Linked DNA regions of Homo sapiens: regions 2, 3 and 4 are each linked to region 1. The links are contacts of gene promoters, found by promoter capture Hi-C in blood cells and fetal thymus (Javierre and others, 2016). All regions are on one chromosome and are shown on one strand. Each heading gives the region's core, a stretch centred on a gene start or on the middle of the fragment in contact. The rest is flanking DNA. Distances are from core to core; before and after follow the strand shown. Region 1 holds the start of RTCA (RNA 3'-terminal phosphate cyclase). Region 2 overlaps CDC14A (cell division cycle 14A). Region 3 overlaps CDC14A (cell division cycle 14A). Region 4 overlaps CDC14A (cell division cycle 14A).

Region 1 (3,435 bases), core at 684-3,183:
CGCGGTTGAGATAAGGACTGAGATACGCCCTGGTCTCCTGCAGTACCCTCAGGCTTACTAGGGTGGGGAAAAACTCCGCCCTGGTAAATTTGTGGTCACACCAGTTCTCTGCTCTTGAACCCTGTTTTCTGTTATTTAAGATGTTTATTAAGACAATATGTGCACTGCTGAACATAGACCCTTATCAGTAGCTCTGCTTTTGCCCTTTGCCTTGTGATCTTTGTTGGACTCTTATAAGTAGTTCTGCTTTTGCCCTTTGTCCTGTTCCCTCAGAAGCATGTGATCTTTGTTAGACCCTTACTAGTAGTAAGGTCTTTTTGCCTTTTGAAGCATGTGATCTTTGTACTTTTGTACCTACTCCCTGTTCTTACACCCCCTCCCCTTTTGAAACCCTTAATAAAAACTTGCTGGTCTGAGACTCAGGCGGGCATCATGGTCCTACCGATATGTGATGTCACCCCCGGTGGCTCAGCTGTAAAATTCCTCTCTTTATACTGTCTCTCTTTATTTCTCAGCTGGCCAACACTTATGGAAAATAGAAAGAACCTACGTTGAAATATTGGGGGCGGGTTCCCCCAATAAAGATGTCAGATAGGGGTACAGCTTTTTTATATTCCATCCCTACCATCATTGCCTTACTTCAACTTCTGATTATTTCTTGCTGGATAATTGTATCATTGGCATTTCTCCCTTCAGGCTCTTAAGCCTCTTATTCACCCTTCTCCTACTGCCAAAGCCTTCATTTTAAAATGCAAGTATCATTACTTCTCTGATTAATATCTTACGGCAAATTCCAGATTTGGTTAAGTACATAGTCTGTGTGTTCCCTAAAACATTCTCTGTCGCAAAGCAGCAGAGCGTTGGGATTACCAGACAGTGGTGTTCACATCAGACCACCCAGGTTCACATCTCAGTCTTCTAGTTAAAATTGTGTGACCTTGTAGCAAATTGTTTAACACAGGAAGCTGTAAAACAGTAAAAACAGTAAGTACTTTATCATGTTATGAATGCATGCAGTGCACAACACCTAAGTGCTCAATAAGTGTTGCCTGTTATTGTTACAGTATATTATTAATATATTGTAATTGTCCCCATAATAAACTCTAAATACAGTACATGTTAATTATTATTGAGGATGACATTGTAATTGATTACGTCTCAGTCTCTCCATTATACCTCCAATAACTTCGGGGGTAGAAGCTGAATTACTCTTTTTTGCTTCCCTAGAGGTTTACATATTATTTGGTACTCAATTATGTAGGAACTGAGCCACAGGCAGAACCAAGAAGCTGGCTATTGCTTCTGCCCTCGCCTGAGGTGAATTGTTAGCTGCACTGTTCCTGGGAGTCAAGAGCTTGCACTCACTCTCAAGCAAAATGGCATAACTTTGGCTTTTCAGAATATTAAACTAGTGATTCTGCCTTTCCCGCCTCTCAAATAAATGGTGTGTCACCCTAGAAAGAAAGATAACACACTCCGCATACACAAACACGCACACCGCAAGGAACCAAAGGCCAAGAGTATCAATGTACCAGGGCGCACACACTTCGAGAGACAGGTTCGGTGCATCGCAGGATCCCAATCTTTCTTGCATCTTCAGCTCTAAAAGTCGGCACCTCGGGGTATGCCAGGATCCTCGAGAAAACAGATATAAACACATATTTACCCACAAAACAGAGATAAAGCACAAGCCTGCGGGATAACTGGAGGAGTTATCTTACAGTTGAGACTTTCTGCAACCTGCAGATTTTGCCGTGCCCAGGGCACAAGTTTTTCAGGGCTCCTGGGCACCCCCGCGACCGTCATCTCACTTCCCCGGCAGCTTCCTCGCCCCGACCGCAGTGTTCCCAGCGCGGCTCCTTTAAGCCGAGCTACGCGCATGCGCACTGACTGCGGAACTGGGCGAACCCGGGGGTTCGTTTCTGCTGACTCCAGTGTCCCGAGAGGCGCCGCTTCTTCCGCTTTCTCGTCAGGCTCCTGCGCCCCAGGCATGAACCAAGGTTTCTGAACTACTGGGCGGGAGCCAACGTCTCTTCTTTCTCCCGCTCTGGCGGAGGCTTTGTCGCTGCGGGCTGGGCCCCAGGGTGTCCCCCATGGCGGGGCCGCGGGTGGAGGTCGATGGCAGCATCATGGAAGGGGTGAGTACAGAGCGAAGCGGCCGGGGCTGCAGCCTAACTAAGGAGGGGAGCTCTCACCACCGGTGTGCTTACTTCTCTTCTCCCTGTACCCCAACCTTTGCAGGGCGGCCAGATCCTGAGAGTCTCTACGGCCTTGAGCTGTCTCCTAGGCCTCCCCTTGCGGGTGCAGAAGATCCGAGCCGGCCGGAGCACGCCAGGCCTGAGGTAAATCTGGCTGGAGGGGGAGTTGGGCCGTGAAGCTGGGGGATCGGGGGGTCGGGCTGCCGGGCTGGGGCATCGGGAGTCCGAGTGGTGGAACCCAGAAGGTCCCAGACGCAGGTATGGGCGATCCAGGGCGGGGCACTCTGCCTGGGCGGTGGCCTGGGTTGTAAAGTCTTGAAAGCCTGGAGGGGTGAGTTTAGAAATGGTCTCGAGTTTTCTCTGTTTGACTAAATAGTGTCATTTGCTGAAGAGCTAGCTTTTAAAATGTTTTCTCACCTCACCGGGCATTCCAAATATCCGAACAGCACGTATGAGCTGGCAAGATAGATAGGGCAGAAATGCTTGTGACGCCAGAGGAAACCCTGTTTTATAACCAGTGCATTCTGGTTCTGCTGTCAGTTTTAGAATCATAAAACAGGAAAGAATCCTGAGATGTGTTATCCCAGCCTTCATTCATACCTCCAGAGAGCTGTTATGACCAGAATTATCTGTTGTGGAGAGGGAAACACCTTGACATTTGACCTTATTTCTTCTGTCTGGGTAGCTGGGCATGCCACTAGTTGAGCTTCAGGTACATGCACCTGCTAGAAGAGGACCCAGGTTTGAAGCCACACTGATTGCTTTGTATGTATTCTGTATTTATTACATTTTAATAAATCAGCGGTCTCAGTCTTTTGTCTACAGTTTTGAAATTACCAAAAGGCAATTACTGATATGTTAATGTTAATTGCCTTTGTCATAGTTTGCAGCCCTCCAGTTCACCAACAGGGGAATCCAATTCATTAGGCTGTAGGTGTTGTATTAGTTTGCTAGGGCTGCCATAACAAAATGCCACACACAGAGTGGAGCTTAAACAACAGAAATTTATTTCCTCACAGTTCTGGAGGCTGGAAGTCCAAGATCAAGGTCCTGACAAGGTTGGTTTCCTCTGAGAGCCATGAGAAAAGGATCTGCTCCAGGCCTGTCTTTTTGCCTCTTCACATGGTGGTTCCTCTGTGTACCTTGCCCCTAGCGTCTCTGTATGTTCTAGTTTTTTTTTTTTTTATAAGGACACCAGTAAGATTGTATGGTGGCCTTATTTTAACTTAATTATCTC
Region 2 (3,435 bases), core at 529-3,028, 240 kb after region 1:
GGAGCCTTGAAGAACTAGGAAAATCACTCAATAAAAATGTTTTAAAATTCTTAGGTAGGAAAATGAAGTCTGCATGGCAATATCCTCCCAGAACCTTTAAGAAAGACCCAGAAACTCTTAGGGGATGGGGGTTATGGGTATTTAGAGGGAATCTAATATTTTAAAAGCTACAATTAGCATCTCTTTTGAAAGCTGCAATTGCTCACTCACTTTTTGCAGCAGTTCAGCCCCCAGAAAAATGTAAAAATGATTTCCTTATTCTGTCATTAAATCGTTTAACACAGAAAACAAGAACAAATGTTAAGGATTCCTTATGGTTGTGACAGAATGCTGAGGAACAGTCAGATTTTATTTTTATTAATTTGTCCTCTTTTGCTAGTCTTGCAGTTTCTACTGCCCTGTGCAATGCACACACACAAGGTTACATTTTTGTTGACCCACTTACTGTAAAAAATGAGTTTCACTCCCTGACACTCAGAGGAGTTTTCAAATGCTTAAGAAATGAGGGACATGTGATTATGGTGTAGGTGGGGTGGAAGTATTTTATTAAATTGAAATTACTTGTGGTATCTGTCTTGAATATTTGCTATGCTTTATTTTTATGACACTTAATCACTGGATTACTAGTCATCTACATTGACCTTACCTGACCCCCAACTCTGAGTTAGTTCATGTTGCTTCTCCCATAAGCCTCTCTACATCCCACCTTGGTCTAAATCAGAATACTCTTTTTCACTCAGAATTTGCATAATCCACTAGACTATATGCTTTGTGAGGGCAGGGATGGTGCCTCTGGTTTTTATAGTTATGTGCCCTGTGCATGGCATATATTAGGCACTCATTAAGTATTTGTTGATTGGATAAAATGATGGATGGTTAAATGAATGAATGCTCTGTAGCTTTAATAATAAAACTATACAAATAAGTGAAACTTATTATAGCCTGTAATAAGCTTTGTTATGCACTCTTCTATCTTAATCTTCAAACATTTGCAGGGATATTCTCATAGTGAAGGTTGTAGGTAATGTCAGTGGTGCCATTGTCTCTTGGAATTTTTCCTTTCTTCTCCATTCAGTTGCTTCCTCATCCCTGTTGTGTTTGAGTCTTTGATGATCTTCCTAACTTGTCTCTTTCCACCTTTAATTCTTACTTTAAAGTAGGGTTGGCAAACTTTTTCTGTAAAGGGCCAGATAGTAAAGATTTTTAGCTTTGTGTCCCAACTATTCAACTCAATACATAAACGAAAAGTGTGGCTAATATTAAATAAAACTTTATTAACAAAAATAGGTGGTGGGTTGCATTTGGATAGTGAGCTGCAGTTTGCCAACCCCTGCTTTAAAGCATTGCCAGATAAGAGATATAGATTTCAACATCTTATTTCCCTGTTCAGAAATGACCAGTGGTCCCTTAGTGCTAGAACATAAATACTGACTTTCTTTGTTGAGCTTTCAGGCCCTCTGTACTGCATTTCTGTAGTATTGTATCTTTGCACCAGCATTTACCTTGCTTATTCTCTTGTTTTCTTCTCCCACAGTGTTCATGCCTACTGCTAGTCTTTAGGAAGCCCTTTCTTGGAAGCCCCCTGCTCTCCTTACCAATTTCTCATCTTTAAATAAAGACATATATTACCTCCCATGTCTTCTGTGAAGCTCTCCCCAGTAAGTGGAATCCACCCTATAATTAATACTTTATTTTATCATGTATGCTATTATATACATGAACATCTATATTTGTTTACATATTGTCTGTGTATGTAAGAATTGTCTCCAAATTTAAACTTCTTTTGCAGACATTTCAAAAAGTTCTTTTATAGTTCATGGTTTCTAACACAGTACCGGTCACAGGAGGGAATTAAAAATTAAAATACTCATTTGGTTGAAAGTTGAAAGCAAAATGGAAATGAAATATTGTGTGCTTCCTACTTTCCCTCAGCATTCTTATATGATAGTTGAAGTTGGCTTAAATGTAGTTCTCTTTTCTAGTGTTAGTAGCATTTTTATACTCAGTTGGTTAATGCTGCTCTTTGGTTATGAAGACTCTGGATGTTTTCCACCTCAAATTTGACAAACGTAAGAACAATCTTGGTAGCCTATGAATAGGTTAAGTTCTTCTGTGTTCTAACATCAGGCAGAATACGTATGTGTTTTAAGGAATTATTGGTCCTTAAAGTAGGACCTGGAATGAGATCAAAATATTAGAATCTAGCTTTATAAAATAACCAGTTTGATGAAAATCTGAGTGATTGGCAGTGCACTAAAGCATGGTTCATTTGTACTTTGGGATAATGTTAGTGCTGACAGTGATAAGCTACTTACTGATTGTTTGAATATCCATTCCCAGTAAAGTGCTGATACTTTCCAGTGGTATGTAGTAGTGTTTCCCGATATCAACTTGTTGTCTTTTCCCTCTGCCTGTTCTCCATTTTAAAAATTGGTCATCTTGTCCTGATTTTAAATAGGACATTTTTATTCGTCTGCTTTTGTCGCTATTAAGAAATACCTGAGGCTGGGTAATTCATAAAGAAAAATGGTTTATTTGGCTCACAATTCTGTGGGCTGTACGAGCATGGCACCAACAACCTGCTTGGCTTTGCGTGAGTCCTCAGGAAGCTTACAATCATGGTGGAAGGCAAAAGGGGATCTTGTGTATCACATGGCAAGAGGGAACAAGAGAAAGGGAGGATGTGCGAGGCTCTTTTAAACCACCAGATCTCATGTGAACTCATAGAGTGGGAACTCACTCATTACTGGGAGGACAGCACAAAGCCATTCATGAAGGATCCACCGCCATGACCCAAGTACCTCCCACTAGCCCCACCTCCAACACTGGAGTCACATTTCAACAGGACATTTGGAGGGGATAAAACATCCAAACTATATCAATATTCATTTATTAATTCATATTAATATTGTTAAATATTAACTAGGTGTTAATATTTATTACAGTTAAAGGTACTAGCTTTCTATCCTCTTGTTGTATATTTATGTTGCTGTGGTTTTTCATCCTTCCTCTTTGTTGTGGCATTGCTTTAGATTTGATGTAAGTTTTCAGCTAAGGGATACTAACTACATATCAAGAACATGAGCTCAATCTCAGTATTGAACCACATCTTTGGCCTTCATTCAACATTGCGATTTTTTTTCCCTTCCCAAGGGGACCTGAGAATGCTACTTGACAAAGCATCAAATTGTTATGAGGTCAGCATGGTTCGGATGATGCCTTTAAATATGCACATAAACTGTTTATATGTTTGCAGTATTTGTAGATATATGTAACTATAATTTAAGTTTCCAGTGTTAAATAGTAGTTTATGTTACTTTTCTGTATAAAACCTGTCAGCTGTTTTTGACTGTACATTTGAAAAGACTTGAAAACATAAAACTTGCTTTAAGTGATAAGGTTGATCAGAAATATATAATAGGTAAGGATTAATTT
Region 3 (3,435 bases), core at 511-3,010, 210 kb after region 1:
CCCAGCATTTTAGGAGGCCGAGGCGGGCAGATCGCATGAGGTCAAGAGTTTGAGACCAGCCTGATCAATGTGGTGAAACCCCGTCTCTACTAAAAATACAAAAATCAGCTGGGCATGGTGGCATGTGCCTGTAATCCCAGCTACTTCGGAGGCTGAAGCAATCAATTGAACCTTGGAGGCAGAGGTTGCAGTGAGCCGAGATTGTGCCATTGCACTCCAGCCTGGGCGACACAGCAGGACTCTGTTGAAAAAAAAATCAGCTCTATTGGCATTTTTGAATCATATCTTCTTCAGCCCTAAGACTAGGCTATATAAGGCAAAAGGAAAACTCGAGGAACTCACCACCATTTCGTTACTTAGGTCTCAAGGTTCCAACCAATCTGCCTTTTTCTTTTCTATTTTTCAGAGTCTTGTTTTTTTTTTTAAATATATATAGGATTTTAAATTTTACTTATGGGAAGAATAGGGAAAAGTACATCTACTTTATTTTCCAGAAATGGTGTTATTGCCTTATATTTTAAGGTAATTAGTCTGCCTATAATTTTCGGCATGAAATCTGCTGTGGCAGTCTGAATAATGTCTCCCCAAATACAGGCATATTTTAATCCCTGTGAACCAGCTGTGAATGTTACTGTATATGGAAAAAGGGACTTTGCAGAAGTGATTAAGTTAAGGAAGTTGATGTGGGGAGATTATCCCGGATTGTTTGGGTGGGCCCAATTAATCACAGTGTCCTTAGAAGAGGGACCCAGGGGGAGCCATTTAGAGGAGAAGCCGATGTGATGACTGAAACAGATTGGACTGATGCATTTTAAAGATGGAGTAAGGAGCCATAAGCCAAGGAATATGGGCAGCCACTGTAAATTGAAAAAGGCAAGGAAACAAATTATCTCCTCAAAGCCTCCATATGGAACCAGCTCTGCCTACTGTCACTGCTTTAGCTCAGTGAAACTGATTTCAGACTTCCAACTCCAGATCTGTAAGAAAGTAAACTGGTGTTCTTTTAAACCACCACATTTACGGTAATGCTTTACAATATCCATAGGAAATTAATACATCTGCTTTGTATAGATAGCAAATATGTACAGCAGGAGATGCAGATCCTAGTGATGAACATGCATATTCTGAACTTCTCTTATTCATCATACTTTCTAATTTGGAGTATTTAATTCCAAATACTCCAAATTAGAAAGTATGATGAATAAGAGCATATAGAGGAGTCGTGTGACTTAAGTGTTATTTAAGGAAGCTTGAGTTGCAACAATGTGTAAGATGAATTGGGTGGATGGAGATTGGAATCAGAGAGGCTAAAAAGGAGGCTATTATCATCCATCTCAGAGAGACAAGGACTTATCAAAAGAGGATAGAAGTTGGACTGAAGATTTAGAGATGGGTACCAGGGACATTTCAAGAAAAAAGAAAAAAACAAGGCTTTGAAGACTAACTAATGATCAGAGAGATGAAGAGTATGAAGTCAATGATGACGCAAAAGCATGAATAAGTAACGTGTTCATTAAGCAAGAAATAAGAGGGTAAAAACGTTTTCTGTTAGGTTTTCACCTGTCAAAAATGACTGAACAAGTTAAAGTGATTGTATTCTTTTAAAGGTGAAAAGTCAATCAGTGCTTTTTAGAGAATGTTAATTCCAAATCTCTGACTTTAGAAAGGCTGGTTTGTCATATCCTCCTAGTCCTTGAGGACCAAAATATGTCCAGGTGCTTGATTGCCATGTCTTAAACAAGCAGCCCTCTTATTCACTGGCAGTAAGAGAGATGTTTATTAGCATCCTTTTGAGTTGTTGATGAATTTACTTATTGGCTGACCTCTCCTTTGTTACAGTCTGAAATTTTATATTTAAACTTTTAAAGGATATAAAGCTCTCTATTTGCAAAACAACCATCAGGTGTTTTTCTTCTATTTAAAGCTGAAGTTCTTAAACCAAAAATACCATTCTGAATCCCAAATGTGTCTTCTATCAAACATCCTCAAGGTTCTTAAAATGATGTAAAAATACATCTTTTTGTTTTTGAGCCAACTCTGGACTCAATGTCCTCCGAGACAACCTTTAGAAGTATAAAGGTGGAGTCAGGCTGCTTTTACAACTTGGTTGATTCTATTTATTGAACATTTGCTGTGTGAATGTTCCCCTGACCTTGGGTATCATTATCTATCTGTGATAGATAACCTATATCACAGATAGATAGATCTATCTGTGACAGATAACCTATATCACAGATAGATCTATCTGTGACCTCGGGGATCATCATCTGTTAAAGCTTTCATTCATTATAAAGGGATCATTGAGGGACTAGTGTGGGGCTCCCACGGGGATTTTCAGCTCACGGAGATCCTTTATTTATGGGGCTCAATATGGCATTGTTTTTGTTTTACATTTCCTTCTGAGACAGAGAGAACTCACATAAAGCCTAAATCTGGCTCTTGCAGGAAGTTTTGGCTCTGTAAAGCAGAGCTTCCATTTTGAATGAGGTTATCTTTATGAAGCACAGTATTATGGTTGAACTCTTTTTCATTCTTAAATCCATAAACCAAAAATTCCCCTGTTCTACTTTATTACAATAGATGTTTTCATCAGCTTCTACTGAGTTGGATATTTTCAGAATTCTAACTTTGTTGCAAGCCTTCCATTGTCTTCAGTGCTTCTCAAACATGAAAATGCCTAGGAATTGTTGGGGGATCTTGTTCAGTGCAGTCTCTGATTCAGCAGGTCTGAGGTGAGACCTGAGAGTGTGCATTTCTAACAGGCTCCCAGGTGGTGTGCTGCTGCTGGTCCCTGAACCATATTCAATAACAAGGGTGTTTGGCTCATCCTTACTCTGTAAATATCAACTTAGGCTACATCTTAATTTGGTGCCAATAGTATTTCGTAAGTTTCACAATTGGATTGAGCTAGATCAGAAATTAATAGTTAAACCATTGCTTTTTTATTTCAGGAATTAGCAAAAATAAGATGAAAAACATCTGTTTAGAAAATGGAAAATGCTTGAAAAAGTCTAACACTAATGGTTTGAGTTTTAGTTGAGATTGACTTCTATCATTTCCTTTTAAAAAAAGTTAATTCTTTTTTAAATTTCAATAGCTTTTGGGATACAAGTGGTTATTGGTTACATGGATGAATTGTATAGCATGAACTCCGAGATTTTAGTGCACCCATCACCTAAGTACTGTACATTGTACCCAATATGTAGCTTTTTAATCTCTCTTGTCCCCGACCCCACCTTCTGTGAGTCTCCATAGTCCGTTATATTCACTCTGTGTGCCTTTGCATACCTGTACCATTTCCTTTTATGGTTTTCTTTTAGATACATGCAGTAGGTCAAGGAATATAGGCTAAAAAATTTTAATTATTTATTTTAAGGGTTTAAAATTTTGTGTTTCCTAAAATACAGAAATTATAATCTGAAATACTATAAAAAT
Region 4 (3,435 bases), core at 489-2,988, 190 kb after region 1:
ATTTTAGGGAGGAGTAAATTGAGCCTTATTAGTAGAGAATTTGCCCAAGGTCACAAAGTAATAGGCAGAACTGGTACTCCAAACCAGAGGAGGGCTCCTAAACATTGCCACTACACTGATACACTTAGTTCCATTGTGACAACTAGGTACAATTTTCTAGCTGACAGTGGTTAAACTACTTATTTGCAGCATAATTTATTGCCATGGGCATACATATTTAGGAAAAAAATAAAAACAAAACTAAAAATAAACCTTTTGAATGAAACATGATCAGCTATGCAAGTTTTCCCATTAAGACTTATTTTGTACTTACTAATTTTTTCTATCTACTAATATTCCCTAGAAAACAAGTAATGATAGACAACAGAGGTTCAAGAATAATTTACAAGAGAAGTACATAAAATTGAAAAAATATCCATGAACAAAATATCCCCCCCCCTTTTTTTTTCTATCTGATCATAGAGGTGGAATACCAGTGTTCTGAGGGAACCTAACTTGAAACCTCTGGTCTAGATTTATTCTTCAGCTGGGCATGGTGGCATGTGCCTGCAATCCCAGCACTTTGGAAGGCTGAGGTGGGAGGATTGCTTAAGGCCAGAAGTTCAAGACCAGCCTCGGCAACATAGCAAAACCCTGTCTCTTAAAAAAAAAAAAAGATTTATTTTTCTTTAATCATCATATTCTAGAATCTAGTTTCATTGTATATTGTTATTCATGCATTTAGGTTTTATAATTTGAGCTTTCATAAATATGCTTATCATTTCATACCTGTGACATATTTAATAGGGAACTCTGCTTGAATCATGATTTTACCATGCGAATGGGCAATCCAGGTCTAGAGAGTTAAGCTCACAAACAGGATACCTCTATGGTGAAGTCAGAATTTGATCTTCTTACTTATAAGCTTGCTAAATAATCTTTTTTGGTCTGGACATTCAATAATTAACCTCTGTCATTTTGGGTTGTTAGGAATTACATGTTGAGAGCCTGAGGAAACTGCTTTCTGACAATTGGCCTTTCAAGATAAGACTGATTAAACCTGCTTTCTGTGCAAATTATCTGACTCAGGCCCAGGAAATGTTAGTAGGGATATTGTTTCAGTAGTAGTTTTGTTGTTGGGTATTTGGCAAAGTCGAAAGACTTTCACCATTTGTGATTCATGTGTTTGACTACGTTTTCTTAATGAGAAATTGAGAGATATAATTGTAAAAGCCATTTAAAAGTTTTTATGTATATAGACATTGTATATTCTATGGATACATGCATTTTGAAAAAAATTTTTTTTTAACAAAAGTGGCATCATAACATAGTTAATATCTTACAGCCAGGTTTCTTCACTTAACATATCACGACTTCTTTTTATAGCAGTAAATGAAGATCCATGTAATCATTTTCCACGACTGCATTGCATTTTGTTCTACCATATGACTGTGCCATATTGTGTTAATTTATTTTTGGTTTTTGCTTTTGTTTATTTAGAGACAGGCTCTTGCTTTGTTGCCCAAGCTGGAGTGCAATGGTGTGATCATAGCTCATTGCAACCTTGAACTCCTGTCCTCAAATGATCTTCCTGCCTCAGCCTCCCAAGTAGCTGGGACTACAAGGCACAGCCCACCACACCTGGCTGGTTTTTTTTTTTTTTTTTAATTTTTAGTAGAGATGAGGTCTCTATGTTGCCCGGGCTGGTCTTGAACTGCTGGGCTCATGTGATCCTCCTGCCTCCCAAAGCACTAGGATTACAGATTTAAGCCACTGAGCCCAGCCTGTTAATTTATTTTTGGATGAGATCTAAGTTGTTTATCTCTTATTCTTACTCTTTTTTTCCTTTTTAAATTTCATCATCTATTTAACCAGATGAAGTTTTTCACTTTTTAAAAACTGCTGTGGTTGGCATAAATGTTCATACATCTTTTTGCAGCTGTAGTTTCTTCTCTAAATTGTTAGAAATAGAATCACTAGATAAAAGGATACGCAATTTTGTATAATAAGTTATAAGTGTCAAAAATATTTAAAACAATTTTTGGTCCTATATTTAATATGGGGAAAAAATTATAGCCACCATTCGCTTACCTGCCAGGAAGGGTGCTAAGCCTCTTGCATATACATCATCTATTTAATGATCAGAACAACCCTCTGGAGCAGGTGGTATTTATTTTATAGAAGAGAAGCTGGAGGCTTACAGGAATTACCTAACTTGTCCAGGTTCATAGGCCAGTAATTGTTGGCGTGTGGATTCAAACATTGGTCTGTTTAATTCTGAATTTTGTGTTGTTTTAAATTTTATTATAGAGGATGTACATGCTCACTCTAGAAAATTTAAGTAATATAAAGAGTAAAACTCTTTAAAAACATCATATAATCAAGAAATAATCACTTTAAGATATCGCTCTATATGCATATTTTATTCTATGCATGTATTGTGCCCTGTCATATTGACATAAAAAAATCTGAAAGTACATTTATCTCACCTTTGTCAGCTTTTATGATGCCTAGAACAATTTCATTTAAGGCTGCCATTGGTAAAATATTGCTATTTTACTGGAATTTCCATTTTAAGATCTAATATTCACTAGAAGCTTCACTATACTTTTTTGTAAAGTACTTTAACTTTGTAAATGCTTTTTGAAGTTGAGAAAATAATTTTGTGATGGAATTAATAAACCTGATCCAATTACAGTGACGTCTTGGTAATTTTTTTTTTTTTTTGAATTGAGAAACCTGTGTTTTTCTGAGGAGGCTGAAAGTCATTTTAGAGGCTCGTTAGAAAAGCTGAGGTTTTAAAGAAGTGATCAAGTAGCTGTTGCTAGGAGGTAGCTAAAGGAAGCTCTAAAATCTTGGGATCTGGGCAGAATGTATTATAAGAGCCTTAAGTGTGTGTTTGTGTCAATAGGGAACACTAGGAGTTTCTTTTAGCCATTTTGATTCACATTGTTTTGACAGTGGGGAAGAGAAGAGCCCTACTTTTTTTTGTTAAACATTTTTGAATTGATAAATGATGGATAACAGCAGAATGAAACAGATATTTTGGATTTCAGATTTTCTGTAAAAATGTCTCTTAAGTGTCACTGTCATTCTCACTTCTATTTAAACACACACACACACGCACACACACACACACACACACACACAGAGAGAGAGAGAGAGAGAAAGATAGCTTCAGACTGAGAATCCCGACCATTTGAGGCATCAGCCTGCTCCTTTAATGAGAGAAGCCCAGTGTCCCGTTTAGTAAAGAGCCTGGGCAGGTTGAAGCCTGGCTCCATTCCTTTTTGGCTGCGTGAACTTCAGTGAGTTCCACAGCTTCTCTGAGCATCAGTTTTCCTATATATCACAGTGGGAGAAATATGATCCTCACTGCAGGCACCTAGTGAGGATTAGAGATGTTATGTGAAGTGCCTTGCAGAGTATTGGGCACACATAATAGGCGTTTATTAG

The links. Contacts are between HindIII fragments. The CHiCAGO score rates a contact against its expected background, and 5 or more counts as called.
Region 2: a fragment that was not itself captured here is called in contact with the fragment with the promoter of RTCA in region 1 in 1 of 17 cell types (total CD8 T cells); the score reaches 5.1 in total CD8 T cells.
Region 3: a fragment that was not itself captured here is called in contact with the fragment with the promoter of RTCA in region 1 in 3 of 17 cell types (non-activated CD4 T cells, total CD4 T cells and total CD8 T cells); the score reaches 5.4 in non-activated CD4 T cells.
Region 4: a contact is called between a fragment that was not itself captured here and the fragment with the promoter of RTCA in region 1, in 8 of 17 cell types (total CD4 T cells, total CD8 T cells, non-activated CD4 T cells and 5 more). The highest score is 12.3, in total CD4 T cells.

The regions. Positions count from the first base shown.
Region 1 is chr1:100,264,283-100,267,717 of GRCh38, forward strand. RTCA (RNA 3'-terminal phosphate cyclase) reads left to right here and starts at 1,934. Exons shown (of 11, transcript NM_003729.4): 1 at 1,934-2,138; 2 at 2,242-2,342. The coding sequence starts at 2,094. It overlaps RTCA-AS1 (RTCA antisense RNA 1), which reads right to left and starts at 1,892. Exons shown (of 3, transcript NR_110435.1): 1 at 1,722-1,892; 2 at 1,547-1,635; 3 at 460-965. RefSeq lists enhancers at 1,625-2,174, 1,743-2,102. The HindIII fragment of the contact is 11,806 bases long and covers 1-3,435 here.
Region 2 is chr1:100,503,280-100,506,714 of GRCh38, forward strand. The region is part of intron 15 of CDC14A (cell division cycle 14A); the gene reads left to right. Among named protein-coding and RNA genes, the nearest start is that of GPR88, 33 kb to the right of the region's middle. The HindIII fragment of the contact is 1,657 bases long and covers 951-2,607 here.
Region 3 is chr1:100,476,200-100,479,634 of GRCh38, forward strand. The region is part of intron 10 of CDC14A (cell division cycle 14A); the gene reads left to right. Among named protein-coding and RNA genes, the nearest start is that of GPR88, 60 kb to the right of the region's middle. The HindIII fragment of the contact is 1,027 bases long and covers 1,248-2,274 here.
Region 4 is chr1:100,455,999-100,459,433 of GRCh38, forward strand. The region is part of intron 8 of CDC14A (cell division cycle 14A); the gene reads left to right. Among named protein-coding and RNA genes, the nearest start is that of GPR88, 80 kb to the right of the region's middle. The HindIII fragment of the contact is 1,672 bases long and covers 903-2,574 here.